Linked DNA regions of Homo sapiens: regions 2, 3, 4, 5, 6 and 7 are each linked to region 1. The links are contacts of gene promoters, found by promoter capture Hi-C in blood cells and fetal thymus (Javierre and others, 2016). All regions are on one chromosome and are shown on one strand. Each heading gives the region's core, a stretch centred on a gene start or on the middle of the fragment in contact. The rest is flanking DNA. Distances are from core to core; before and after follow the strand shown. Region 1 holds the start of SRP19 (signal recognition particle 19). Region 2 overlaps WDR36 (WD repeat domain 36). Region 3 has its middle 41 kb from the start of WDR36. Region 4 has its middle 30 kb from the start of CAMK4. Region 5 has its middle 5.9 kb from the start of CAMK4. Region 6 overlaps CAMK4 (calcium/calmodulin dependent protein kinase IV). Region 7 overlaps STARD4 (StAR related lipid transfer domain containing 4).

Evidence for each region. The method cuts DNA at HindIII sites, captures the fragments that hold promoters and counts their contacts. A CHiCAGO score of 5 or more calls a contact.
Region 2: a fragment that was not itself captured here is called in contact with the fragment with the promoter of SRP19 in region 1 in 6 of 17 cell types (naive B cells, total B cells, monocytes and 3 more); the score reaches 9.4 in naive B cells.
Region 3: a contact is called between a fragment that was not itself captured here and the fragment with the promoter of SRP19 in region 1, in 2 of 17 cell types (M0 macrophages and monocytes). The highest score is 7.1, in M0 macrophages.
Region 4: a contact is called between a fragment that was not itself captured here and the fragment with the promoter of SRP19 in region 1, in 1 of 17 cell types (naive CD8 T cells). The highest score is 5.1, in naive CD8 T cells.
Region 5: a fragment that was not itself captured here is called in contact with the fragment with the promoter of SRP19 in region 1 in 1 of 17 cell types (fetal thymus); the score reaches 6.5 in fetal thymus.
Region 6: a fragment that was not itself captured here is called in contact with the fragment with the promoter of SRP19 in region 1 in 2 of 17 cell types (fetal thymus and activated CD4 T cells); the score reaches 6.8 in fetal thymus.
Region 7: a fragment that was not itself captured here is called in contact with the fragment with the promoter of SRP19 in region 1 in 7 of 17 cell types (total B cells, naive B cells, fetal thymus and 4 more); the score reaches 8.6 in total B cells.

Annotation. Positions count from the first base shown.
Region 1 is chr5:112,859,028-112,862,873 of GRCh38, reverse strand. It overlaps SRP19 (signal recognition particle 19), which reads right to left and starts at 1,587. Exons shown (of 5, transcript NM_003135.3): 1 at 1,457-1,587; 2 at 291-366. The coding sequence starts at 1,497. RefSeq lists enhancers at 1,290-1,589, 1,690-1,769, 1,528-1,822. The HindIII fragment of the contact is 2,166 bases long and covers 1-1,738 here.
Region 2 is chr5:111,098,496-111,102,341 of GRCh38, reverse strand. WDR36 (WD repeat domain 36) reads right to left here. Exons shown (of 23, transcript NM_139281.3): 4 at 3,503-3,620; 5 at 1,621-1,753. Among named protein-coding and RNA genes, the nearest start is that of WDR36, 8.1 kb to the right of the region's middle. The HindIII fragment of the contact is 7,608 bases long and covers 1-3,846 here.
Region 3 is chr5:111,131,649-111,135,494 of GRCh38, reverse strand. No RefSeq gene overlaps it. Among named protein-coding and RNA genes, the nearest start is that of WDR36, 41 kb to the right of the region's middle. The HindIII fragment of the contact is 2,276 bases long and covers 865-3,140 here.
Region 4 is chr5:111,192,014-111,195,859 of GRCh38, reverse strand. It overlaps the pseudogene RPS3AP21. Among named protein-coding and RNA genes, the nearest start is that of CAMK4, 30 kb to the left of the region's middle. The HindIII fragment of the contact is 4,835 bases long and covers 1-3,846 here.
Region 5 is chr5:111,216,577-111,220,422 of GRCh38, reverse strand. No RefSeq gene overlaps it. Among named protein-coding and RNA genes, the nearest start is that of CAMK4, 5.9 kb to the left of the region's middle. The HindIII fragment of the contact is 869 bases long and covers 1,557-2,425 here.
Region 6 is chr5:111,237,209-111,241,054 of GRCh38, reverse strand. The region is part of intron 1 of CAMK4 (calcium/calmodulin dependent protein kinase IV); the gene reads right to left. Among named protein-coding and RNA genes, the nearest start is that of CAMK4, 15 kb to the right of the region's middle. RefSeq lists a silencer at 3,292-3,391. The HindIII fragment of the contact is 2,198 bases long and covers 1,161-3,358 here.
Region 7 is chr5:111,507,278-111,511,123 of GRCh38, reverse strand. STARD4 (StAR related lipid transfer domain containing 4) reads left to right here. Exons shown (of 6, transcript NM_139164.3): 2 at 3,682-3,795. The coding sequence starts at 3,691. Among named protein-coding and RNA genes, the nearest start is that of STARD4-AS1, 3.0 kb to the left of the region's middle. RefSeq lists an enhancer at 1,821-1,940. The HindIII fragment of the contact is 2,144 bases long and covers 1,148-3,291 here.

The DNA.
Region 1 (3,846 bases), core at 338-2,837:
ACACCGTCATAACCTTTGTTTTAAAAACATGTGAACTCTACACTCTGCCCCCACTCCTTTACAAACAAAGGCTCATTAAGAGACGTTAAAAAAATATCCCTTCAGCTATGAATTAATGCCTTTCTGGTTTCACCAACACTGAGGAACGCACCCCAATTCTTGGCTGTGTTCTCAAGCCCTAAATAAATGCAGTGAAGAGAACCCCCTGCGGCTCTAACAAGATTACGTGGCCCGACCAGGATGACACCCCCCATTCCCTCGAGGATCAAGGTGCCAGCCATCTTGCTTACCTTACTTATGGGGATTCGCCTTCCCTCTGCGATGGTCTTCTTATTATTTAAATAAGCAGGATAGATACAAATAAACCTGCCATAGACAATAGCATAAGTGGTATCACTAGAGCAGTAAGAGGCAGGAGAAAAGGGTCGGGTGGCAGGGAACCAAAGGCCAATTCATGCTGCCTAGATATCAGATGGGTACTCCCTTTTCAACCCCTCCTTTTTCTGCGTGGCAGTTGAAAAATCAAAGTACCTCGGAGTGGTCCCCTCGAGCAACTAATCAGACTGGCCGCGGGCCTACTCCTCTTTCTGATTGATCCCCCTCCCTCAACCAATCAGACTGGCACAGGTCAATGGGAAACGTCTAGAGGGTATTTAAACCCTAGAAAATTCTGTAACCAACAGCTCTTGGGTAGCTTGCTGGAGCCGGCTCCCACCCTGTGGAGTGTACTTTTGTTTAAAATAAATCTGCTTTCGCTGCCTTGCTTTGTGTGTTTTGTTCAATTCCTTATTCAAAACGCCAAGAACCTGGACAACTACACTCAACAGATAACAAGTATTTTCAAAAATACATTCTTTCGGTCCGTGGTAGTCGTCATCATTGCTGGTACACCTATGCTATTATTTGCTTAATGTTATTTCTTTAAATTACCTCACTTTAACTTATTTAAAAATAAACTTTATCCACTACCTTGGATGGAAAAAAACCACAGGAATAGAAACAAAACGACTTGGGTAACTGTTACATTAGACAGAGCAGCCCGTCAAAAGTTCCTGAGAATGGGCCCGCCCTCTTATATAAAGTGTCCGAGGTATTAAAAACCTTAAAATTTCACAAATGAGCCTTTCTGAACGCAACAATACTTAAAAAGAACACATTTCTCACACTGTGATTATATTACTTGATATCATGTCCACGTAGCACCCAAAATCCTTGTCTCGCGTACAGATAAACACTAGGCTACCTATGGTCGGAATTTCAGGAGCCCTGAGAAGAGCCTGGTGGCTGCTGCAGGATTCAGAAAAACGAGCTGCCAGGGAGAGGCGCGGGGCCCGTACAGAGCGAGTTGGATCAGCTAGGCCATTCTGGAGGCCGCGGAGCGGAGAAGCGCGGTGTAGCACCTGCAGCACCACAGCAAGCCCCTTCCTTTCGGAGGACCCACCGCCTCAGAACCCACCTGTCCTGGTCGGCCGGGGACCGCGCGGCAGCGCAAGCCATCTTCACAAGAGTCTCAACAACCCAGGAGCCGCAGGGAGAAACCCGGCAGAAACCCGGGAGGAACCCGGCTCTGAGTTTCCGAGACAGCCCGCTTTTCCGCCGGAAGTCCTGCCCAAGAAATGGTTCCGCGTCCGCGATTTCTCATCGCCTGTTTGTTCCGGCACCTGTCGCTCGGCGCCAGGATCTCTAGTCTCTGACGTGGCATGAAGACTTCCCTTCTCGCGAGAGAATCATGAAAGCTTCTCATTCCTTTCCCAAGCCGGGAAGACCATGTGGGGCGCATGCACCGCCACTAAAAAGGGTTTAACTTCGACCCTCCCTCGTTTCCAGTTTCTCAGCGAGTATGGGTGGTACTAGCTACTCTCTGTTAAGGGGCGAAGACTGTGCCACGAGGGGAATCTGTGTGGTTCAGGATGCAAATATATGTTAGACAGGGAAGGAAATACTCCTTACGTTTAATTTTTCTCCGTTCCTGGGCTCTAGAGCTTGCTTTCAGTTTGGCAAAATGGATTTTTGTAGTGGTAGAACTAGCAAAGTTATAGACGTTGTGTTTCAGTGTGCTCTGCGTTAGAAACTTAGCTATTCACCTTTTAGGCCGGGTGCGGTGGCTCACGCCTGTATCCCAGCACTTTGGGAGACTGAGGCAGGTGGATCATGAGGTCAGGAGTTGGAGAGCAGCCTGGCCAACATGCTGAAACCCCGTCTGTACTAAAAATACAAAAATTAGCCGAGTGTGGTGGCACACGCCTGTAATCCCAGCTACTCGGAGGCTGAGACAGGAGAATCACTTGAACCCAGGAGGTGGAGGTTGCAGTGAGCTGAGATCACACCACTGCACTCCAGCCTGCGTAACAGAGCAAGACTCCGTCTAGGAAAAACGAAACAAAACTATTCACCTTTTAAAACTTCTGAAGGATACCATGTGCCATCACTACAGGCATACTTCATTATTGCACTTCACTTGCTGCTGCGAGTAGATACTGCCTTTTTACAAATGGAAGGTTTTTGGCAAATCCGCCTGAAAGAAGTTGCTTGGTGCCATTTTTCCAGCAGCGTATACTTTGTGTCACATTTGGTAATTTTTGCAATATTTCAAACCTTTTCATTATTTCTGTTATGGTGATCGGTGATCAGTGATGTTTGCTGTTACTATTGTAATAGTTTTAAGGCCGGGTGCGGTGGCTCACGCCTGTAATCCCAGCACTTTGGGAGGCCGAGGCAGGTGGATCACGAGGTCAGGAGATAGACACCATCTTGGCCAACATGGTGAAACCCCATCTCTACTAAAATATAAAAAATAAGCCAGGCATGGTGGCACAGGCCTTTAGTCCCAGCTACTCGGGAGGCAGGGGAATCTCTTGAACCCAGGAGGTGGAGGTTGCAGTGAGCCAAGATCACACCACTGCACTCCAGCCTGGCGACAGTGCAAGACTCCGTCTCAAATAATAATAATGTTTTGGGGCACCATGAACCATGCCCAGATAAGATGGGGAACTTAATGGATAAATGTTGTGTATGTTTTAACTGTTCGACCAACTGGCCATTTCCCATCTCTCTCCCTCTTCTGGAGTCCCTATTCCCTGAAACACAACAATGTTGAAATTAGGCCAGTTAGTAACCCTACAATGGCCTCTAAGTATTCAAGTGAAAGGAAGAGTCACACGTCTCACATGTCAAAAGATGGAAATGATTAAGCTTAGTGAGGAAGGCATATGTAAGCCAAGATAGGCTGAAAGCTAGGCCTCTTGGCACCTAACAGCCAAGTTGTAAATACAAAGACAAAATTCTTGAAGGAATTAAAAGGAAATTACTTCAATAAACACACAAATGATCAGAAAGCAAAACAACCTTATTGCTGATATGGAGAAAGTTTTAGGGGTTTGGATAGAAGCTCAAACCAGTCACAACATTCCTTTAACCCAAAGCCTAATCCGAGCAAGGCCCTAACTCCCTTCAATTCTGTGAAGGCTGAGAAAGGTGAGGAAGCTTCAGAAGTGGGAAGCTAGTAGAGGGTGGTTCAGGAGGTTTAAGAAAGAATCCATCTCCATAACATATAACATAAAAGTGCAAGGTGAAGCAGCAAGTGCTGATAGAGAAGCTGCAGCAAGTTATCCAGAAAATGTAGCTAATATCATTGACGATGATCAATGATTAGCTAGTATCATTTAGTGGCTACACTAAACAACAGATTTTTCAATGTAGACAAAACAGTCTTCTATTGGAAAAAGATACCATCTAGGATGTAGCACCCAAAATCCTTGTCCCTTTGAGAGAAGTCAATGTCTGGCTTCAGAGCTGCCCCATTTAGTGGCTACACTAAACAACAGGTTTTTCAATGTAGACAAAACA
Region 2 (3,846 bases), core at 484-2,983, 1.8 Mb after region 1:
CAAGAAGAAAAATAGTTGAAAGCTGTATTTTTTTTTTTTTGGAGGAAAACAATATCAGCTACACATTAAAAAGTGAAATAATAATAGGTGATATTTATTAAGTTCTTACTCTTCCACACACTATTCTGATGATTAAGCTAATGTCACAAGGTTAGTAATATTGTCCAGACAAATTCTAGGTCTCAAACTAACTACTATGCTATGCCACCTCATTAAGAAATTAAATGTCCTAAGTGGAAAAAAAAATACGTGTGTAAAAATCATGTTATATTACAGGCTACAGTAAAAAAAATTTAGGACTGCAGTATCTTTATAGAAACATCATGAAAGGGAATAACTTATATTTTAATAAAAATATTATTTGCATGTTATATGACTGTTATATGACAACAGTAATGCTGCTCTCAATTTCAGAAGCAAGTCATGAATGATAAATAACACATCCATGGAGCAAACAGAGGTATCTGAAATCATTATAATTATCATTAAAATATTAAATCATGTATTAAATTCTGTAAATGGGCAAAGACAGTATTTCAGTCACTATTGCTGAACCTAGCACAAAGTAGGCAGTCAATGGTATTTGTTAAATTGTAATGAAACACTGATTTAAAACATCAAACCTTTAATAATCTTATTTTCCCTTTTGAATTTAAAAGGACTTTGGAAAAAAACAATTTGGATGGTCAAATATTTTTGTTTGCTTTTTAAAATGCTATACAAAGAAGTGTGAGCTGCCACCTTTTTCTACTGATAAATGTTTACATAATGGATAGAAGTATTCAAAATCATGTATCCAGCCCTCTAGCTACATCAATATTAGATATTTGCCATATCTATGGGAGATTATGGAAGTACTTTTAACCCTAAAAATCATTTCTAAATGCTAGCACTAAATTATTGATTTGCCTTTCCATCTTTTACCTTCTTCATGTATAGAAAATCTTCATGTATGGAAAATCAGAAGCTCCCTAGTAATAATCTCATTATTATTATTTTCTGATGGATCTCATAGACCTTTATTAGAGCCTTCTCTATAGCAATTCTTTACAGTTATTAGGTCATTAGTACATACTTTTCAGTGAGCATTTATGAAGCTGTCTAACATGTGTCAGGATCACATGCCACCTTTCACATATGTGATGCCACCAGCAACAACTCCAAAAGCAAACATATAGTTATATCTCACTACCTGTGGGGGATTGGTTCCAGGACTTCCCCAACTTCTCTGCTGATACCAAAATTCACAGATGCTCAAGTCCCTTACATAAAATGGTGTGGTATTTGCATATAACTTTCACACATTTATGCATATACTTTAAATAATCTCTAGCTTACTTATAAGACCTAATATAATGTAAATACTATGTAAATAGCTGTTATACTGTACTACTTTAAAATGTGATGTTTTATTGTTGTATTATTATTTATTTATTTTTCCTTGAATATTTTTGATCCCAGGTTAATTGACTCCTCTGATACAGGGGACCAACTGTTATTTATAGACAACCCTCCAAATAAATATACAAGGGCAGGGAGAAATGAGACTTAAGTATACATTAGGAAGTAGTAGATGAGGATAAGGTGACAGCTATATTATTTTCTAACTAAAATACTTACTTGGATTTTACATTCCACAACTGCAGGCTTCCTTGTTCACTGCCCAGAAGTATTTTATTCAAGTAGGTACTTGGATGCAAAATTGCAGAAATTTTAAATACTGATTTATCAAAAGTCAACTGCAGGTATTCTTCTACAAAAGTGAAAGTTATAAATATTTTTTATAAAATAGTTTAAAATGTTTTATGTAACCATATATTTATCACTTAAAGTAAGTCTATCACATCAAAGATTTATATGTTAAAATAAACCACAGACTTAGATACTAATCTATAAACATTCCTTGAGAAATAAAATAAATGAGAGGCAACTTGTAAATGTAATTTAATTTAGACTGTCAAAAATTTTCTGTAACTTCTAATAAAAATACTATTAAAAGTTTCATTCACTTTTGAATTACTTTACAGAAAAGGATAATAAAGTTAAAAAAAAAAGATCCTAAGGATTAGCATTCATGTTTCTGTAATTTGATCAACAGACAGGAGTGAATATTCCAAGTGAAGTGCTTATACTTAGCTCTTTCAGGGAACGAAGAGCCAATTATCTGGAAAGTTTGATGGGCCACTCAAAAAATGCCAAAAATAAAAGACACACCTCAGTGAAATAAGAGTACTTCTCACACATTTCCACAAAATAATCTCTAATAAAGGAGAAAAAAAAAACGTATAACCCTGTGGAGTGGGGGGTGGCATCACCAGTGGTCACTTGCTCCAAGATAAAAAAATTCTCTGAAATCTTTGGTTACATTCAAAATTTCTATGTTTGAATTCTGCTTTTCACTTTACAGTTCCTCCATGATTAAAACAATGTTCCACTCTATTTTCCAGTAAATTTGTGTATCAAAGAAGGTACATTTCACTTAATCTTTAGGTTCACATACTATCTGGCACACTACTGTACAATCCCAGGGTATGGGTACCACAGTTTAGGATGTACAGGTATAGGTGAAAATTATATAAACTTTACTTTGAATGCTATTTTAAGAGATCCTTGCCTTTATTCGTCAGTCACTACAAATGGCTCCCTGAATATACTGGTTCAAGAGAGTCTGCTGGAATGTAAGAACCAGATCCTGTAACCTAATAAAAGCCCTTTTAACTTCTATCTGCACAGGGAATACTTTTGGAATTCTGTTCCCTCCCTCTACTTGAGCAAAAACAAAACAAGAAAAGGGTTACTAATCTGAAACAAGAACCTGGAATAATTCCCAGAAATGCAATCTTCAGGATATTTACTGAAAAAAAAAAAAAAAAAAAAACAAAAAAAAAAACAAAAAAAAACCAAGAGGCAATATAAGCTAAAAATGTAACCAGATTAAAGAACTTAAAAGATTCAATTCATGATGAACCCAGTATTTTATTGAGGAAAGGTGTAGATATCCTAGGGATAAATTCTTCATGTTTAAAGATACATAATCCCATAAACATAGCCACTGTCTAAGCTATCACAGTTGAAAGAAACTGACTCATATCCCTAGGAAATGGATGTATATTTTCCTTCAGATTACAAGATCAAGTTTACTATTACAGTCTCCTTTACTAAAAGGTGAAAATACAAACCAAGAATTACTCAGGTATGAAAATACATCAATATTCACTCCACAGGGAAAACAATACAACAAATCATTAAAGTTGGAGAACTGCAATGGAAAATACATTAGTTGAGGTAAGCACATTAAACAGTTTATAAGTAGTTAACTTGCTAAAGTTGTTTATCTCTTTCTTACTTAGAACTTTTTTTCTTACACGTTAAAGATTTTTGATTTTTTTAATTTCTTACTATTTACAGGCAAAATCTCTGGCATAGATGTTTACATAGATTTTAAATTTTAATTAAACACATACTACCCTAAGATAAAGCAAATAAATGAGTTAACTCTTACCTTCTGAATATATGTGCCAAATAATAAGAATGCCATCAGTATCAACAGAGATAATGTGGTCTCCAAAGGGTTGCAAGAAATGGATTTCTGCCTTATGACCCTTAAAGGTATGTACTATCTAAAACATCGAAGTTTAAAAGAATTTCATATTATTACTCAGTCATCATGTCATATTATTCATATTATCCCAAAAACATGCTAATCCTGAGATGCTTCTGTTAAGAAATGTACCCCAACTTTTGATTATTCAAGGTTAGGATGAACACATAAATATTAAGGGACCAGGCATGTTCATCTGCTCCCTCAGCCAGTTCAACAATAAGGAAGTAAACTGTCCATTAAGA
Region 3 (3,846 bases), core at 753-3,252, 1.7 Mb after region 1:
TGTTCAAGATCAATGGCAGTTGTCCTCTTTGTGCAGCCTGCCCTGGCTCCGAGAAGGCAGATGTGTGCTGCCTTTCCTCCTGCAAGGCTCATCTCCTGGACTGGGGGTCAGGCACCCTGTCTCATGTGTGTTGGGATCTCCATCTTGCCATACCCCATACACGATTATTTAGGAGGGAATGGGACAGGTTGAGAGAAGCACACAGTTCCACAGGCACCTTTTTCCTCACGTGTTGTAGCTTACATTTTTGAAGTACCTTCACTTCACCTCCTTGTCACCACAGCAACAGAGATGAACATCTCATCTCTGCCCCCTGCCTCCACCTTTCCACGCAGTGTGCCAAGAGCTAAAACTGCACCCAGGCCCCTGGGGGGTGGCCCTCAGCTCCAGGAGCCACGTCTGACAAACTACAAGGCTAATTCCTAGTCTCTGCTTCCCTATGCCTGGCCATCTATTATCAGCCAGAGAATGGAGAGGTGGAGTCTTCCAAGGGAAAAAAAAAACCAGTTTTTTTTCCTCCTTAATTGTTTTACTTCTTCATATGCACTGCTTTTCTAAGTTACCAAGCCCTTTGTTAAAACAAGAATGGTAGTGAAGCAGCATGCAGGCATTTTTTTTTTCATATGGAGGCTATTTGGGAATTCCTGTACACACACACAAACACGTGCACACACGTGTGCGTGCACACACACACACACACCCACGTATGCCACATTTTGAAATAAAGGGAGAAACTCCTGGCAGTCACTCTTTGCAGAGTGTGAAGGCCTAGAAACATCTTCTTCTTTATCTTGATTCTAAAAGAGAGCAAGTCAAAAGGCTAAGCAAAAGAATATAAAAGAATAATGAGCTAAAATACAAGCTTCATAGGACCGGGATTTTTATATGTTTTGTTTTCTAAAGTATCTCAAGAGCATAGAACAGCATCTGAGACAGGGTCAGAGCTAAGTATTTGTTGAAGATAGAATGAATAAATCAATGATTGAAGGAAGGAAAGAGGAGTGATCACAGCGCTGTGAGCTGGGTGGGGAGGCTGTCGGGTATGTGACTCCTTTGTTTGGTATATGATGCTTCTTGTAAACTAAATCCACATGGTTAAGTGAGTCCAGGCTTCGATAACTCACTCTCACCCACCATTCAGTCACCCAATGGGCTTGCATCATATTTACTCTAGAGAATAGAGTGTGGCCAGGAGTGAGGAAACAGGGCCAGAGTTATGAGGCAGACATCATACTTGGAAAGTTCAAATGAGAAAAAATAAATTAATAGTAAAGACTGGAATTTAGCCAGAGATAGTGGGGGAAAAAAAGGGCAGCCAAACAAAACAAAACAAAACAGAACAAAACCCCCGGCTTTGAAATATCCATTCTTGGCTGTGGTAGCAATAAACAATATTGCTAAAAATTGTTTGCAAGGATTTATGGAATTTTTGTGTTTTCAGAGGACATTAAACTATTGTTATCTACATGTCTGCAGTGTCAATAAATCACTAACAACACAGAGATAAAACTAAGTATTGAATATTTTACGTACCTTTTCAGAGACATTTAGTAGATTCAGCTGGAAATGGAAATTAGCATGGTTGGAATTGGGAAATTCAGCATATAGTACACAGATACTGAAAGAAAGATCCCTAAAGAATATTTTATATATCAAAATGATTAAATTTCATCTTGAGCCCTCATATTACTAGATTTAGGGTAGGGAACAAAATTACCAATTAAAAAGTATCTCAGTCTCTTTCACATTAGCCTAGTCTCTTTTGGATAAATATTTTGTGAGATTTTATGTTCAAATTCCCTACCATGTCTGTTTCTTTCCTCACAAAGGAAGGTTCACTATGTGTGAGTGCCTTCTGTGTTGCCAGACCCTCTTCTCACCTCCCCCGACCAGGACCACAGTCCCACTTAGCCTGTGCCCTGAGTCTCTGCCTATCTTCCAGCTGGGCCCTGGGCCAGGATGGTGTGTCCACACTCTGCCACTGGGGCTCTATGGCAGGCCTGTTGGCATTCTACTCCCAGCTGCCTCCCTCATTCCCCTCAGGGAGCAGGTGGAAACCTCCAGATCCCTCCCAGTGTCACCCACAGTCATGGAAACTCTGTGAGCTGTCACAGTCATTTCTTGCCACCTAAGTTAAGTCACACCCCTTGACTATGGCCACCATGTGTCAGGATAGAGGGCTTGTGAGCCAGTCTCCTCCAGGGGAGTCAGGACCTAGCCCCACAACTCTGGAGTTCCACTTAATGTACCCAGTGATTTCTCCAACTAACCCTCCATCCCCACTTCCCCTTTTACTTCTAGATCTGGGGCCAGGGCCTACAAAATCTTTAACCCTTTTGCTCACTTTCCTTCCTTCAGGTTTCTTCCTAGAACCAAGTGGGAACATAGGTGAGAACCTTATGCCTCATAGCCTTCTTTTTTCCCTTCTCCAGTTCTAAGTTCAGTTATATTAAGTCACCAAAACGGAGATTTGTTAAAATACATATTGCTGGCCCCTACCCACAGAGTTTTTATTTCAGTAGTTATGCAGTGGGGCCTGCAGTTCTAAGTTCCCAGGTGATGTTGATATTGCTAATTGGGGAAACACACTTTGAGAACTACTGACCTATACTGTGACCTTCTCTAATATCACTGCTCCCTTTCCCTTGCAATAAGTCCCATGGCTTAGCCTTAATGGGGGAAGGACTGCAAGGTATATGCCTTATATTGTATTAAATTTATATCTGAATCAGTGAGATTACTCTTGGAAACAATTTTGGCTTGAGACTTTCAGGATCTCAAACTATTAACAGCAGAAAACAAGAGAGTCTGCAGAGCTTAAATAAGGCTAATAATGACCAAAAATGTGTAAGAATAATTCTTTAAAGGGTGATGTGGTCTTCTTCCTTTGCCTTTCCAAACGTATCACCTTTTCTGAGATTTGACGCAACTGTCATATTAGAAGGGGACTACCATTTTGTTTTGCAGGGCTGTAAGGTGAAATACTATGCGAATACTCATAATCTACCATTCAAAAATGGGATTTTTCAGTGAGATGATAGCTTTCCATCCTCTGAAAATGTAATCTTCCCTTTAGCATAACAGAGTTATAAGAAACATGAAGACAGGAAGGTGGGGGTGTGTGGGGGTGGGGCGAAGCTTTTTTGTCCCTGGAGGATGGTGAAAAGATTACAAAAAGAAAACAGAAGGATTCCTCTTCCTTCAGAGGAAGAAAGGGAAGTGTCATAAGTGAGGGGGAAGACTTAGGACCCAGAAGGGAGGGTTTTTAGTCTCCAGTGTGCAATCTTGGACTTTAGGAAGAGGCTGCACATCAAGTGGATTGTTGACTGCCTTTGGCAGGCACTAGTTGCAGAAGAAATACACAATCAAAGGAATGCAGCACTCTGCAAAGAAAAGCAGAATTCAAAGAGTATTTCTTGAATTTCTCAGTGTCACAGATCACAAAAAAATTCCGGAAAACAAAGATATTATTAGATAATCCAGTATTCCTGAATTCTTAAATTTCCATTCCTGTTTAAACATAACATTTCTGTAATTTGCAGTCAAGAGTCCTAAATAATGTTAGAAAGTATAATTTAAAAAATATTAACATTGGCCTTGCAGGCAGAGACATTAGTAAAATCTTGTTTCAGTGACCTGGCTCTCTCTGGGCACTTTGATTGGACTATATAATGCTAATTTAGCTTGTCAGAAGACAAAATTACAACATATTTAGTTATAAATTTAATTGCCTTTTATCCACCATTCATCAGGGAAGCCCTTCATTCTATAAAGTAGAATGAGAAATCCCACTGGACAATAGCAGAACAAGGGGTTTTTTAAGGTGGGAAACAGAAAAATAGAGAA
Region 4 (3,846 bases), core at 354-2,853, 1.7 Mb after region 1:
CAACAGAGCAAGACCCTGTCTCAAAAAGAAAAAAGAAATGCATGACAAGAGTAATAAACCATGCATATGGATTGGAAAACTCCATGGTGAAAAGATGTTGATGTCAATTCTTCTTAAATTAGTATATACATTTAGTTCTGTCCCAGTCAAAATATTAGGAAGTATTTTATTTATTTATTTTCAAAAAAAAAAAAACCTGACAAGCTGGTTTCAAAATTCACATAGAGGTACAAAGAGCTAAATACAGTCACAGCAATTTTAAAGAATGAAACTAGAGATATTACAAAACCAGATATTAATATCTATTAAAAGGTATATTACTTAAGACAAAAGTAGTATTGGCACACAGATTAGCAAATTGACCAGTGGAATATAATGGACATTGCAAAAAATCATACTTACTCTCTGGCAAAGATGACACTGAAGTGTTTTCCATAAAAATAATTTAGTCAATTGGATATTCATATTAAAAGTGATATATCTTGACCTGTACCTCACACCATACACAGGAATCACTTTCAGATGAATTGCAAATTTAAAAGTAAAAGGTAACAAAAGAAAGCCTGTAGACAAAAACATGGAAGAATATCTTCAAGTCTGTGAAGTAAGCAAATATTTATTAAACTGGGACAAAAAGTCAAAGGAAGAAATAGATACATTGGATTATATTAAAAATATATCACGTTTGTGCATACTACAAAAAAACAGGTCATAGATTGGGGATGACTCATATCTGGTAATATATACAACTCCTACCAACCAGTAAGAAAAATGCAGCCAGCCGAAGAGAAATATAGATAAAAGACAAACAGATACTTTCTGAAAGAGGATATTCAAATAATCAATAAACATATAAAATGGGCTCCACTTCAGTAACAATCAGGGTAATGCAAATTTAAATTTAAACCATAATGCAACACCACTATACATCCACCAAATTGGCTAAAATGAAAAAGAGAGAAAATAGCAAATTTCAATGAGGATGTGAAAGCACATCCTCAGAAGATTGTAAAGAAACGATTAGACTTAAAATATTTTGTTTTGTATTGATAGGAGGTAGGTAGAATTATTGATTAATTTGAAACTTAAAAAAACAAATATATTACAAATATATATCTGAAATATTAAAATATTAAAAGAATAAAAATAGAATACACAACATTCACATCTCTAGAGGAGGAAAAAGTAAAATAATGAAAACTAAATTATGCTAATATGAGGCAATTAATAAAAAGAAAAGCCATGGTAAATAGAAAACATAAGCTAAAAGATGTAAGTATTAATAAATCTGAACTTCCAATAAAATTGCATAGTCTTTTTTCGTTTTCCCAGAAAAAATAAGGTAATATTTGGCATCTGCCTTTCAAAAATAGGAAATGATGTTAGGAAACTAATCTTGTAAGCCAGGCTGCTGCCTTAAGGAAAAATCTTCTTACTCCTTTCTCCTTTAGTATTGTTAATGGATGAGATGCAAGTTTCGAAAATCCCATGCCTTTTTACTTCCTGAGGAGAGAAAAAGAAGGAAAAGATAAAGGGAGGAAAGAGAGTGGTTTTAGCAGGTCTCTGTTCTATCTAGTATTGCCTCTGGGAGGGGGAAGGAGCATGAAAGAAGTGGGGTCAGAGGAATGATCTCACCTACTTGGTGGGTTGATGGCTTCAGCAAAAAGCCAACTAGCAGATTCTGGCTGGATTGTCTTGGAGGTGCAGGAGGAAGGCAAGAGTAGTAAAAGTTTAAAGTGAGATTTAAAGTATATATTTTCCAGATATCTATTTTAACATTTAAACTATTGCTTATAGTCTTAAATAATAATATTAATTTTAATTTTTTTCTTTTACATCCTGATTCCTTTGCTCAGCTCTATAGAAGTAAAAATGTAAGTTACTTATTTTAAAATATCTGTTCCCCAGTTTTTAAAATGTTTTACAATTTGCTTTTAAGTAAATTCAACAAAAATCTTTCATAGAGGATCACTATGTTGGTCTATATTCTAGCCTGCCCTCTTCTACATACTCTGCTCCAGATCATAGTATAAATAAAAGTTCATGCAATGAAATTAAATCCCAGGAAAAAAAAAGGGAAAGAGGATGCCATCAAACATTTTTATTATGTCTCTTAATTCTGGTACTTTTTTGTATTGGTAGGAGGTGGGTAAGATTATTGGAATGATAATTGACACCATCTCATAAGAACTGTGACATCATTCCCATAATTTATGTAAGTCAAATATATCAAAAGCCTATTCAAATGAACAAAAACTATAAAATAAATGAGAAAAGCACTTTAGAATGCTCTTCCTCTCTGTCAAATGAAAGAATAAATACTGTATTTAGATCTAATGAATTTATAGTTGAACATTATTCATTTTCATTAATACCTATTATTTGTTGTTATTAGGAAGGCTAAATTTTCCTATAATTAATAAATGACAGTAAGTTTTATTTTATATGGATTTTTTTTATCTCTTCAATAAGGAGGCCATTTTGTTTTGGTTTGACAAATATATATCTTTTTATAAGTAACATCCTTCTCATGAAGTAGACTTGACAAATTTTTTGTGTGTCATCTCATTGTATTTTATTCATGATAAAATAACATTTCATAAAAATATAGGAAAACTAAAATCACCTATAATTCAACTATCTAAATATAATTATGCTTAGTTTGTTTAACAGTCTTTTACATATACATAAAATTTTTTAATAAAAGTGAGATTTTCTTGCACATTTGAAACCTCACTTTTTTAACCTCATACCTTTTGAATATCTCCTCATCAATAAATAAAAATATATCACCTTTTTGGCTCTCTGACCAGCACCATGGCAGTTGGCAAGAACAAGTGCCTTACGAAAGGCGGCAAAAAGGGAGCCAAGAAGAAAGTGGTTGATCAATTTTCTAAGAAAGATTGGTATGATGTGAAAGCATCTGCTATGTTCAGTATAAGAAATATTGGAAAGACGCTCGTCACCAGGACCCAAGGAACCAAAATTGCATCTGATGGTCTCAAGGGTCGTGTGTTTGAAGTGAGTCTTGCTGATTTGCAGAATGATGAAGTTGCATTTAGAAAATTCAAGCTGATTACTGAAGATGTTCAGGGCAAAAACTGCCTGAGCAACTTCCATGGCATGGATCTTACCCGTGATAAAATGTGTTCCATGGTCAAAAAATGGCAGACAATGATTGAAGCTCATGTTGATGTCAGGACTACCGATGGTTACTTGCTTCATCTGTTCTGTGTTGGTTTTACTAAAAAACGCAACAATCAGATACGGAAGACCTCTTATGCTCAGCACCAACAGGTCCGCCAAATCCGGAAGAAGATGATGGAAATCATGACCCCAGAGGTGCAGACAAATGACTTGAAAGACCCAGAGGTGCAGACAAATTACAGTGGTCAATAAATTGATTCCAGACAGCATTGGAAAAGACATAGAAAAGGCTTGCCAACCTATTTATCCTCTCCATGATGTCTTCGTTAGAAAAGTAAAAATGCTGAAGAAGCCCAAGTTTGAATTGGGAAAGCTCATGGAGCTTCATGGTGAAGGCAGTAGTTCTGGAAGAGCCACTGGGGATGAGACAAGTGCTAAAGTTGAACGAGCTGATGGATATGAACCACCAGTCCAAGAATCTGTTTAAAGTTCAGACTTCAAATAGTGGCAAATAAAAAGTGCTATTTGAAAAAAAATATATATATATATGTGTATACATATCTTGCTCTACAATTAGATATTCCATAATTTTTCTCTTAGGATAAATTGTTAACACTGTGTACTCAGCTAGGTGTTATTTTGGTATATTTTGATTTTCATATATTTTATAGTTTTTGTTCATTTGAATAGGCTTTTGAC
Region 5 (3,846 bases), core at 742-3,241, 1.6 Mb after region 1:
AACTGAATCTTGAACACGTAAACAAACAGTAACAGAGGAGTTAATAAATCAGAAACCTAGATTTGCAATGGGAAAAGCCAATAAGAAGAAATCTAATCCCTACTATAAAATCAAGACATGTTCAGAAGTTAGAGTACCAGATAGTTCTCAAGGTGAGGCATAGAACAGAGAACAAAACATTGGTTAAAAAATTTTATAAAAAGTTATTAGGCCCCTTCATCCAAATTAGAAAGGAAGAAGTCAAATTGTCCTTGCTTGCAGATGATGTGATCTTATATTTAAAAAAGCCTAAAGACTCCACCAAAAAAAAAAAAAAAAAAAAAACTATTAGAATTGATCAGTCCAGTAAAGTTGCAGGATACAAAATCAACATATGAAAACAGTAGCATTTCTGAAATAGAAAATGAAAAAGTAATCCCATTTACAATAGCTACAAATAAAACAAAATATCTACGGATAAACTTAACCAAAGAAGTGAAAGATGTCTACAATGAAAACCGTAAAACATTCATGAAAGAAATGGAAGAGGACACAAAAAAATGCAAAGATATTTTATGTTTATGGATTGGAAGAAACAATATTTTTAAAATGCCCACACCACCCGAAGCAATCTACACATTCAATGCAATGTCTATCAAAATGCCAATGACATTCTTCACAGAAATAGGAAAAATAATGCTAAAATTTATGTAAAACCACAAAAGAAGCCAAATAGACAAAGCAATCCTGAGGGGAGGCCAGGGCAGGGGGAAGCTGGAGGTGTCATATTACCTGGTTTCAAATTATAATACAAAGGTAAAGTAACCAAAAGAGCATGATACTGGCATCAAAACGAATATATAGGCCAGTAGGACAGAAGAAAGCACCGAGAAATAAATTCATGCATTTACAGTCAAATCATTTTTGAGAAAGGCACCCAGAACATACATTAGGGAAAGGACAGTCTCTTCAATAAATAGTGCTTGGAAAACTGGATGTCCATTTGCAGAAGACTGAATCTAGACCCTCTCTCTCACGATACAAAAATCAAGTCAAAGTGGATTAAATACTTCAATCTAATACCTGAAACTATGAAACTACTAGAAGAGAATATTGGGGAAACACTCCATTTCATAGGTCTGGGAAAGATTTCTTGAGTAAGGTCTCAAAAGAACAGGCAACCAAAGCAAAATGGACAAATTGAATCACATCGAGCTAAAGTTTCTGCACACAGCAAAGGAAACAATCAAAAAAACTGAAGAGACAACCCACAGAATGGGAGAAAATATTTGCGAACTATCCATCTGACAAGGGTTTAATAACCAGAATATATAAGAAACTCAAACAACTCTACAGGAAAAAAAATCAGATTGAAAAATGGGCAAAAGATCTCAACAGACATTTCTCAAAAGAAACATACAAATAGCCAACAACTATATAAAGAAATTTCTATTCATCAAAGAAATGCAAATCAAAACAAGGAAATATCTCACCCCTGTCTTTCTGATAAATGACTTTTATCAGAAAATCACCTTAGAGTGAAACCTACCATTAAACAGGCTCAGTGACCCAAAGCTTCTAATGAGATACAATCTTTCTAATAAATGACTTTTATCAGAAAGACAGGCAATAATGAATGTTGGTGAGAATGTGGAGAAAAGGGAACCCTCGTACACTGTTGGTGGGAATATAAATTAGTACAGTCACTGTGAAGAACAGAATGGAGGTTCCTCAAAACAATAAATAAATTAAAAATAGAACTAACATGTGGTCCACAATCCCACTGCTAAGTATATATCCAAAAGAAAGGAAATCAGTATATCAAAGATACATCTGCACTCTCATATTTATAGCAGCCATGATAAAGAATCAACCTGAGTATCCATCAGTGGATGAATGGATAAAGAAAATGTAGTATGTATACACAAGGAAATATTATTCAGCCATAAAAAGAATGAAATCTTGTCATTTGCAACAACACAGATGAAACTGGAGGACATTAAGTGAAATAAGCCAGGCACAGAAAGACAAATATTGCATGTTCTCACTCATATGTGGAAGCTAAGAAAAATATTGAACTCTTAGAGATAGAGAGTAGAATGATGGCTATCAGAGGACGGGAAGGGTAATAGCAAGGAGGGGATAAATAGGGGATAGTTAATGAGCACAAAAATACAGTTAGATACAGGGAATAAGATCTAATGTTCAGTAGCATAATAGGGCAACTATAGTTAACAGTAACTTATTACATATTTCAATATAACTAAGAGTGGAATTGGAATGTTTCTAACAACAAGGAAGTGATAAATGCTTGAAGGGATGGATATTCCAGTTACCCTGATTTGATCACTGCACACTGTATGTTTGTATAAAAATATCACATGTATCCCATAAATAAGTGCAAATATTATGTATTCATAACAAATTCTTTTTTTAAATTAAAGCTTTTAGGCTTCCTGGATTACCTCTTCTAACAATTCACAGCCAAAAAACACTCCTACCAAAGCCTAGAAGAAGATAATATATTTAATTTTGTAAATGTTGAACAAGGAACGAAATATGTTTTAGGTCAGAAGATACAGCTGAGGCCATATTGAAAAGAGAGATTAAGTGAAACTCTGCACGATAAGTAGCGAGACCCCTGAGGGCACACGCTCCCAGAATGTTGAGAAATAGGTTTATGTCTATTTTGCCCCTAGCCATACAACTATTGGTGGATTTTTCACTGAACAAAATAAATAACCCAAGGAGGGTTATATATATAACACAAAATACTACAAATAATTCCCTCTATATGATATTCAAGGAAAGGCAAAACTGAAGTGACAGAATGCAGATCAGTAGTTCTCCAGGGCTAAAGTGGGAGGGAATCAAATGCAAAAGACTCTAAGGGATTTGGGGAGTGATGGAAAGGTTTTATATCATGGTTATGGTGGTGATTACAGGATTTTATTCATTTGTCAAAACTCTGAATTATACTTTTTAAATTGATAAATTTTATTGTACCTAAGTTACATCTTAATAAAAACAATTAAAATTAAAGGCACAGCCAGTGCTCTAACTTAGGTAAAATTAGAAGTTATTAATATTGGAAAGAAAGAAGTTAAATTGTTGTCATGTACCGATGACTTGACTATTATATAGAAAATTCTAAAAGTTGGTTTAGACTACTACAATTGATCAGTGAATTTGTCAAGGTCACAATATACAAGGTCAATATAAAACAATCACAATATAAAACAAATACTAATAGGAAATGATAGGAAAATTCACTAATACCATTTCATTTACAATAGAATAAAAAGCATAAAATACTTAGGAATCAATTCAACAGAAGATGTCCAAATCATCTACAGTTAAAATTACCAGATATTGCTAAGTGAAATTTTTGCAAATCAAAACTACAAAGAGAAATAATCTCATACCAGTCAGAATGACAATTACTAAAAAGTCAAAAAATAACAGATGCTGGTGAAGCCGCAGAGAAAAGGGAACACTTATACATTGTTAGTGGAAATGCAAATTAGTTCAGCCACTGTAGAAAGCAGTTTGGAGATTTCTCAAAGAACTTAGAACTACCATTTGGCCCAGCAATCCCATTACTGGGTATATACTCAAAGAAAAATAAATCGTTCTGCCAAAAAGACACTTACACTTGTATGTTAATTGCAGCACTATTCATGATAGCAAAGGCAGAATCAACCTAGGTACTCATCAATGGTGAACTGGATAAAGAAAATGTGGTACATATACACCTTGGAATACTACACAGCCATAAAAAATAATAAAATCACGTCCTTTGCAGCAACATGGATGTAGTTGGAGGCCATTATCCTAAGTGAATTAACACAGAAGCAGAAAACCAAA
Region 6 (3,846 bases), core at 1,010-3,509, 1.6 Mb after region 1:
AATTTACCTTTTTTAATCTTTGCAATAATCCTGTGAAAAAAGGCACTAGTATTTTCATTCTACAGAGGAGAAAATGGGGCTTGTTACAATTTAAAAGATTCATTAACAATAAACAGCTACTAGGTACCAGAGTTGGAATGTATCTTTGTACCACCATCGTTGCCACTGGGGGTTCTATTAATATCTACTAAAGTCATAGGGTTATTTAATGTGGGCTGCAGCCCTGCTTTTGACTCTTAGCATTGCCCTATAGCCAAAACATTTCTGAAATCTCAGAATCAGAGAACAACTTGAAAGGCTGTGATATCCAATCATTTGTAATCCCTCCTCCTTTACCGAGAGGCCTTCCAGAATGAATGACCCTTACCTAAATGACACTCAAGTAAGGTGTCTCCTAGGTCATCTAATTTCTATCCCCCCACTTTTTTCCTTAGTTATGAGTATCTCATTAACAGCTTTCTTCAAGGTTATTAATTTGTTTTCTTAAGTACTGCAATGAAGTTCCTTCGCCAGAAGAGAGGGTAGGACAATTAAAAGCAGCTATAAAAGAAATGTAAGATGAAACTGGAAATCAAACTTTCTTTTACAACTTAGGTATCACGTTAGAGAAATACATTTTTTAGGTATGGCTAATAGTAACATCATTTAAATATAAGTCTCTTCCATGTGATGTATTGTTTTATCAGCGTGCACAAACTAATAGACTGCTTTCAAATATTCCTTACTACTTATGGGTTTTTTTTTTTTTAGATTGTTAAATGATTTCCAGAACTCTATTTCTAAATCACAGGTAAGTTGCAGTGATTCTGGGTTTGGTTATTTAACTTCCCGGTGAAGAATGCAACATTTAGAATGAAAAATTAATCTATGAAGAAGAGGTAAAGTTAGTGTAAATAAGACCTCAAAGCAACAAAAAGATTAATATTTTCTAACACCCTTTTAGAAGAAAAAAAACTAAAAATTATACAGAAAGAACCACATGCAGCAGTTATTTTAAACTACCCCAACTTTCCTTTTGTCTGCAGATGTGGAAAATCTTACGGTTATACTACACCTTCTTTTCAATACATGAAATATCAAAAAACAGTAGTCAAATATTTACAAATATTGCACCATGTACTACCCCTGGGTAAAGGGGAAGCTTAGATGCTCAGAAAGCTTACTCAGAAGCTGCAAGCAGTAGCAGAGAATTACTAAGGCCTCCTGCCAACGCATTTCCAGAATTTTAGAATCTTATGACATTTTTGAGAAAGTGTGCTATCCAATCACCTAGAATCCCTCCACCTTTACAGACAGCTATTCCAGAATTAATATCGATAATATCTAATGCTTACTGGACACTTACCGTGTATAATGAATGCACTGACCTCATTTAATCATTATTATCTCTTCTTATGGGTGGAGAAGCTGAGGCTCAATGAAAATTTGTCTAAAATGACACACTTCATGAGTGGCCGAACTGGGACTCTATTGCAGGTCTTTCTAACTCCAAAACTTGTCCTTTTCATTTATCTTAATATTTAACAATCCCTGCAAATAAAAATCTCCCTTCTTGGATAACCTCATGTTCATGCAAAGACATGCAGTAAAGGTCCCCATTTCAGTGTTGTGTGTTAGCTATTCATTAACCTGAGAAACATGAATCTTATTCTCGGGAATTTATAATTTAAGATAGAAAACTGACAATAACAGCCAGAGAAAGCAACCTAGTGCTAAAGAAACACTGACAAGGTTAAAAAAAATCCAATAAAACCAAGCAAAACACAAGTAAAACAGACCTCGAATTAATCGTAAGCATCATAGGTTTTTCAAGGTTTGAGAATATATTCAGAATAAGGTGAAAACACGGTCAAAGACCCAGAGGAATACTGGGTTCCTAGTCCTGAGAGAGGTCCCCAAAGTGATCGTGTGAGCTGTGCCAGAATACAGATCCAAGTCCTGATGAAAACATATGATACTCAAGATGCGCCAAGTTTTATTTTTTAATAGCTGAGCTTCTAGTTGGCAACAAAAAATCCCGTGCCAGCTGCTGAGGAAATAATGTACCAGGAGCTGGCAGGCATTGACACTTGGAAAGCCAACAGGTACGGATGCACAGTGGGATCCAAGGTGCTAGTGCCTGGAAGGCACGAGTGGAAGTGGGGATGTAGCCACAGAAGAATTGTCCCAGTCTAGGGTCTGGCAAGGTGGAGGCATGCTAGGGAGCCCACCTCCTGTTAAAAAAAAAAAAAAAAAAAAAAAAAAAAGAAGAGCCTCTGAGAGTCAGCTTTAGCCATCCTAGATAAAACAAGTAAGGAGCTTTACTCCTTGTGAAGTGGGGTTCTGGCCTCCTTTACCCAGTATCTGGGAGGAAATGTCAGGCATCTGAGAAAGAAGAGCAGATCACTCCTCAAACTGCGACGTCAGACAGGTGCCAAATGGGGGAAAAGGGTACAGGGCTGTCTTTCTCTGCTCTGGCTGGTAACAAAGTGCCACAGACTGGGGTGGCTTAACTTAAAAAAAAAAAACATTTTTTTCACAGTTCTGAGGGCTGGAAGTCTGCAATCGGGTGCCAGTGTGGTCGGGTTCTGATGAGAACTCTCTTCCAGGCTTGCAGACTTCTTGCTGTGTCCTCCATGGTCAGTGATGAGAGACAGCGAGCGAGCAAGCTCTCACAACTCTTTTAATAAGAGCACTAATGCCTCATCACCTCACCTAAACCTAATTTTCTGCCGAAGGCACATCTCCAAACCCCATCGTATTGGGAGTTAGGGTCTCAATACATGCCTTTGGAGGAATAAACATTCATTCCATAAGATGGGCAGATACAAGGAAATGACTGGTACCTAGGCTCTGGAGAGATGAAGGAAACAGGGAGAAATCAGGAGGGGACGGAGAAGTGCTCTGGGCCTAGGGGTAACTGGACTCAGAAAACAAGAAGTAAAGCTGGTAAGGAGTGGCCTCCCTTCTGCCCCTCAGCCCTGTGTCTGCCTCTCTGCTTCCCACCCACAGTTTCCTTTCACCACGCTCCCCTGGCCTCTGGTTGTCAAAAGAAAGATGGGAAGGTACACATTTCCAGAATAATTACTTTGACAGTGCATAAACATCAGGAATGTAAAGTTAATAACCCTACTTGGAAGTTATGTCAAGCTGCATTTCTTTTTGATCGATGATTAAGCATTTCAGTAGATGGCTTTTAAATAATATCCCCAAATATAGATAGACATGGAACAGACTATTTATGCTCTTATCTCCTTCAAGACCCTCTCCTTAGGTCTTCCTTCCCCTCCTATGGTCAAGTCAGGGGATATGTTACCCAACCATGTGACAGGACATTGCTAACTGGTTACATAGCCACAAATAGGTCATAAGTCAAGCTTTTTAAAAAGAATGATTCTTTTCTAAAAGCAAAACTAGAGGGGTAGAGGAAGCCAGGAAACATACTTTCTTCTAAATCTTGTCCTAGATATCTACAACTAGTGCTAGCATTTGTATAGTCTACAGCAGGAAGTACAAATGAGTGAATGTAACAATAGGTACATTTTTTAAAGGTGATGCATTTAGAAAGCACAAAATGAGAATAAAATTTATGTGAGGATCCTCCAACACACTTAGAAAGCCTTTCAGGCTTAGAGCCCTACTTACTTCAAAAGCTGCTCTGTCTCCTAAACAACATAAAGAACTAAGGTGATCGCCCAGAGAATTCAACTGGAAGAAAACGCAGGTGCACACATGGTTGGGACTAGAAGGGATCTTAGAGGTAGATAATCTCCTCACAGAAGGTGACAGTATCCCTGATCACTTAGAGATGGGGGCTCTTTAAGATAGAGATGACTGACAAAAGACCAGAGCTCCCTGGGTTCAAAA
Region 7 (3,846 bases), core at 970-3,469, 1.4 Mb after region 1:
CAACATTGATTGGAAATCAAGCATATGCTGAAATTTTTATGTTAGTTAGAAAATATAATTTAATTTACAAAGCTTTGGTTTGTATGACATTGGGGAAAGTCCATGGCATGTTAAACTGAAGCTGTTGACGGAAGTGAAAACCATATTAATCAAGTAATGCAAGGTTAGACCGTTCTGATACCTGCATTTCTTTAACAAGTGAATTCTGACCTAGTCGTACTACAAAAGTCCAAACAGATTTTTATGGCATTCACTTTACATTACAGGTTAAATGTTTTATTATGTTCCATATTTAAAATAGAACCTATGCCATCTCACTGTGACAGATATTTGAGAATAATTGGAGTTGGATTGGTCAAGACTATGGTGCTGATAGATGGCCTCAAGAAAAGTAACTTGAGACAGCTGCCCTCCCTATGATGGCAGCCACTATCACCACTAGTGATAGCTTCAAAAGCATGGGCATAGAAAACATGAACAAAAAGATTAAAGGAAAAACATGGAGGTGGACATTACTCAGCATTTGGCCATGGGACTGACAAGAGTATAAAATCTTTTATATGAACCTATTATATTCTGATAAGGTTAAGTGGTGCCTGTTCTCTCTGACGTGTAAATGTTAGAGTTGGATAATTTCCTGATATAAGGTCAAGATAAGGGAATAAAAGACTGAATTAGTAAAAGGAAGTTCAGAATGGGTTCAGAATGGCATTTAAAACATTTACCTGACATTCTCCACAGTTGGAGATTGCAGGAGGGCAAATTAGGTGTTTTCCTCTCAATTAATGTCAGTACCCTGTTATATTAGGAGAGAGAGCCAAGACCTTGATAACCCATCTCCCCCAACCCTCTTGGTTCTAGAATATATTAATATTTTGAGAAATGCTCAATTATGCCTGTTTACACAGAGGTAGCAGTTTTGATGGCAATGATTATTTCATTATGGACTTAATCTTGATGAAAATAATCCATGCAAGACTTAACTGTTTGGTTAAATACATTGCTGGACATATTTAATCAGAGAGAGCTTTCTGATTTTGTACTTCTTTCTCTTCCTTTCCTACCTCCCACTGCACCACTCTTAAAAAGGCTATTAATAGAATTTTTTAATGTTTTAGTTTTTGTTGTTGTTATTTCTGTTAAAGCTTAAGGGTGGAATAAGTCAATTTGAGAGTAAAATCTGAATTCCATCTGTTTCTGTAGTTCTAGGACCTGGTATATAATAGATGCTTGATAAATATTTAATAGTAGTCCTTCTTGAGAAATGGTGTTTCATTATGGTAAAGGAAGTTTTAGTTATTCAGAAGCTCTAGGATTGGCGTAAATGGGCATACTTTAGATATCTTGAGGTCTTCCATAAGTGAGAATGGTAGCTTATTGTCTATACATTTTTCCATTTTTTATTCACTGTGTTCCTACTGAGTGCTAGACGTAAGGAGAATTAATATTGAACAAGCCAGATTTCCTACCCCCCAAAGATTTTACAGTTAAACGGGAGAAGATAACAAGTGAATAATTACAGTACAGAGTTGCTGTCAGAAAATATTGGAGGGGGAACTAACCCAGGTTCAGGGGAATCCAGGAAAGATAAGTGGAAATTAGGTAATGAAAATATGCCACATTATAAAAGGGCCTGTAAGCTATAGTAAGGAGCTTGAACTTTATACTGATCAGTATGAATTACTAAGTCAAGTACCTTAAAGTTGCAGATTCTCATCTCTTCTAGGTAGCTAGCTTTCTAGGTAACTTTCCGTGCACTGGATTTGCCCAGTGATAATGTTTGCTTATGATAATAATAACTTTCTGTTTCACCTTTGATTTCTATCAAAAAGTTTTGCATAAATACTCTTATCTGCCAACCACAGGAACCTAGCAGGTGACCTTTGGGTTTAAAGAATATGTTTAATCATAGTGATCCCTGTAATAGATAAATTAAATCTCTTTTACAAGCCTTCTGCAAGAACTTCTGCTTGTTTGTGGCATACTCTTGAATAAAGTTATTGAACTGGCTATCAAGTTGACAGCCTCTTGAATGGAAATTAGGTATATTCTTGACTGAGAGACTTTTTGAATGAGCTCATCAACTTTTCATCCGTGGATTGGATCTATACTTATTATATATTTTGCATCACTTACATAGATCCTAAAAGTTATATTGAATTTTCTTTGTATACTTTCCCATGTTTCTACATAATTTTAGTATTTATAAATTTTAATGGCTTATATGCTCTAATTAGTGGTATTTAAATATTGGCTACAACCTTAATTTATTTCTGTCACTTTAATTTTTAGATCAGTTAGTTCTGATCTCTGGCTAGACAACAGAATAATTAGTGAGACTATTTTAAAGGACCTACATTTCTGAGGCCCATTCCAGAACAAAGCCACTGAATTAGACTATTTGGCACTGGGCCCTAAAATCTAACACCTAAAAGCAGCGACAACTAGTACAAAGCATAAAAAGGTGATTCTGATGTGTGCATCCATAGTTGACAACTGCAGCCTTATTCCCATAGAGGGTGATTTCATTTAGATTAGGAGATTTCATTTAGATGTTTTCTTGACCTCCTTTCCAGCAATTTGATGGTTCTGTAATGGGCAACTTTACCCCTAAAACTCTTTTCTTCTTTAGCCTTTTACTGAAGATGGGAGGAATAGAGATAGAATAGTGAAAAGTAGGAATTATGCTAAGAAATTGGTGCCCTGGCACCAAAAGAAGACAAAGACCAAGTAATTCTTGTTTTGAGACAATAACATATCAACAAAATAAGGGCCTACTATGTGCCAGGCAGTGTTCTAGGTGGTGGAGTTATAGTGGTGAATAAGAAAAGGACCTCTATGCTATTAGTTAGGAATGAGGTGGTCAAAGAGTAGAATCATACACCTATAAATAAGTTATTATATTGTCAGATAATGATAAGCACTATGAAGAAAATAACGATGTAATAGTAACTTAAGAAGGCTTTATGAAGGATAGGAGGTTTAAACTGAAATTGGCATTACATTGTTATTAGTGATGCTAAGATTTGGGATCTAGCCGTATCAAAGACCACAAGTCAGCGATAAGCTAGCCTGTTTGAGGGACAGAAAGAAAACCAGTGTAGAATACTGTAGACAATGAGGTATGATGGTGTTAAAAGGAACCTATTCTTATTAAGGGCAATTCCAAGCCTTTTGACTTGAGAACTTGGGCTCAATTGCCATTTTAATAGTAAATTGTTAAAATGAGGAATACTGTGACAAATTGAGGGAAGCCAGGGGAGGCAAGAGATTCCCTTTAGGCTTGAAGCTTTAAGTAGGCTTCTGGATCTGGGATTTTTGAGCTCATTGAAACAAAGAGGACTGGAGGTAAATGTTTGAGAGTTAACAGCATATCTATATATGAGATACAATTGCTTCCCCTTCCTCCTGTCTTCTCTTCTACTTTCTGTATGAGTGATTTTAATTGTAAAAAATATGTAATTCTCACCTCTGGCTATGGGTTATTCATCTTGGGAGCAATTAGAAAAAAACTATGCCCGGGTCCTACTCTCAGAGATTATGATTAGTTGATTTGGGGTGAGGGTAGCTATCTTTTATAGCTCTGGTAGGTTATTATATTGTGAAACCAGATTCGAGACCCACTGGCCTATTGCCTCAAACTGTGGTATTTGCTGATGCTAATCTTGGTCTCCATAACAGAGAGAAGTAATGGAAGGCCTGTCTGATGTTGCTTCTTTTGCAACTAAACTTAAAAACACTCTCATCCAGTACCATAGCATTGAAGAAGATAAGTGGCGAGTTGCTAAGAAAACGGTAAATTAGTTCAATTACTTATATTTGGGGTATATCTTCTATCTAATGAAT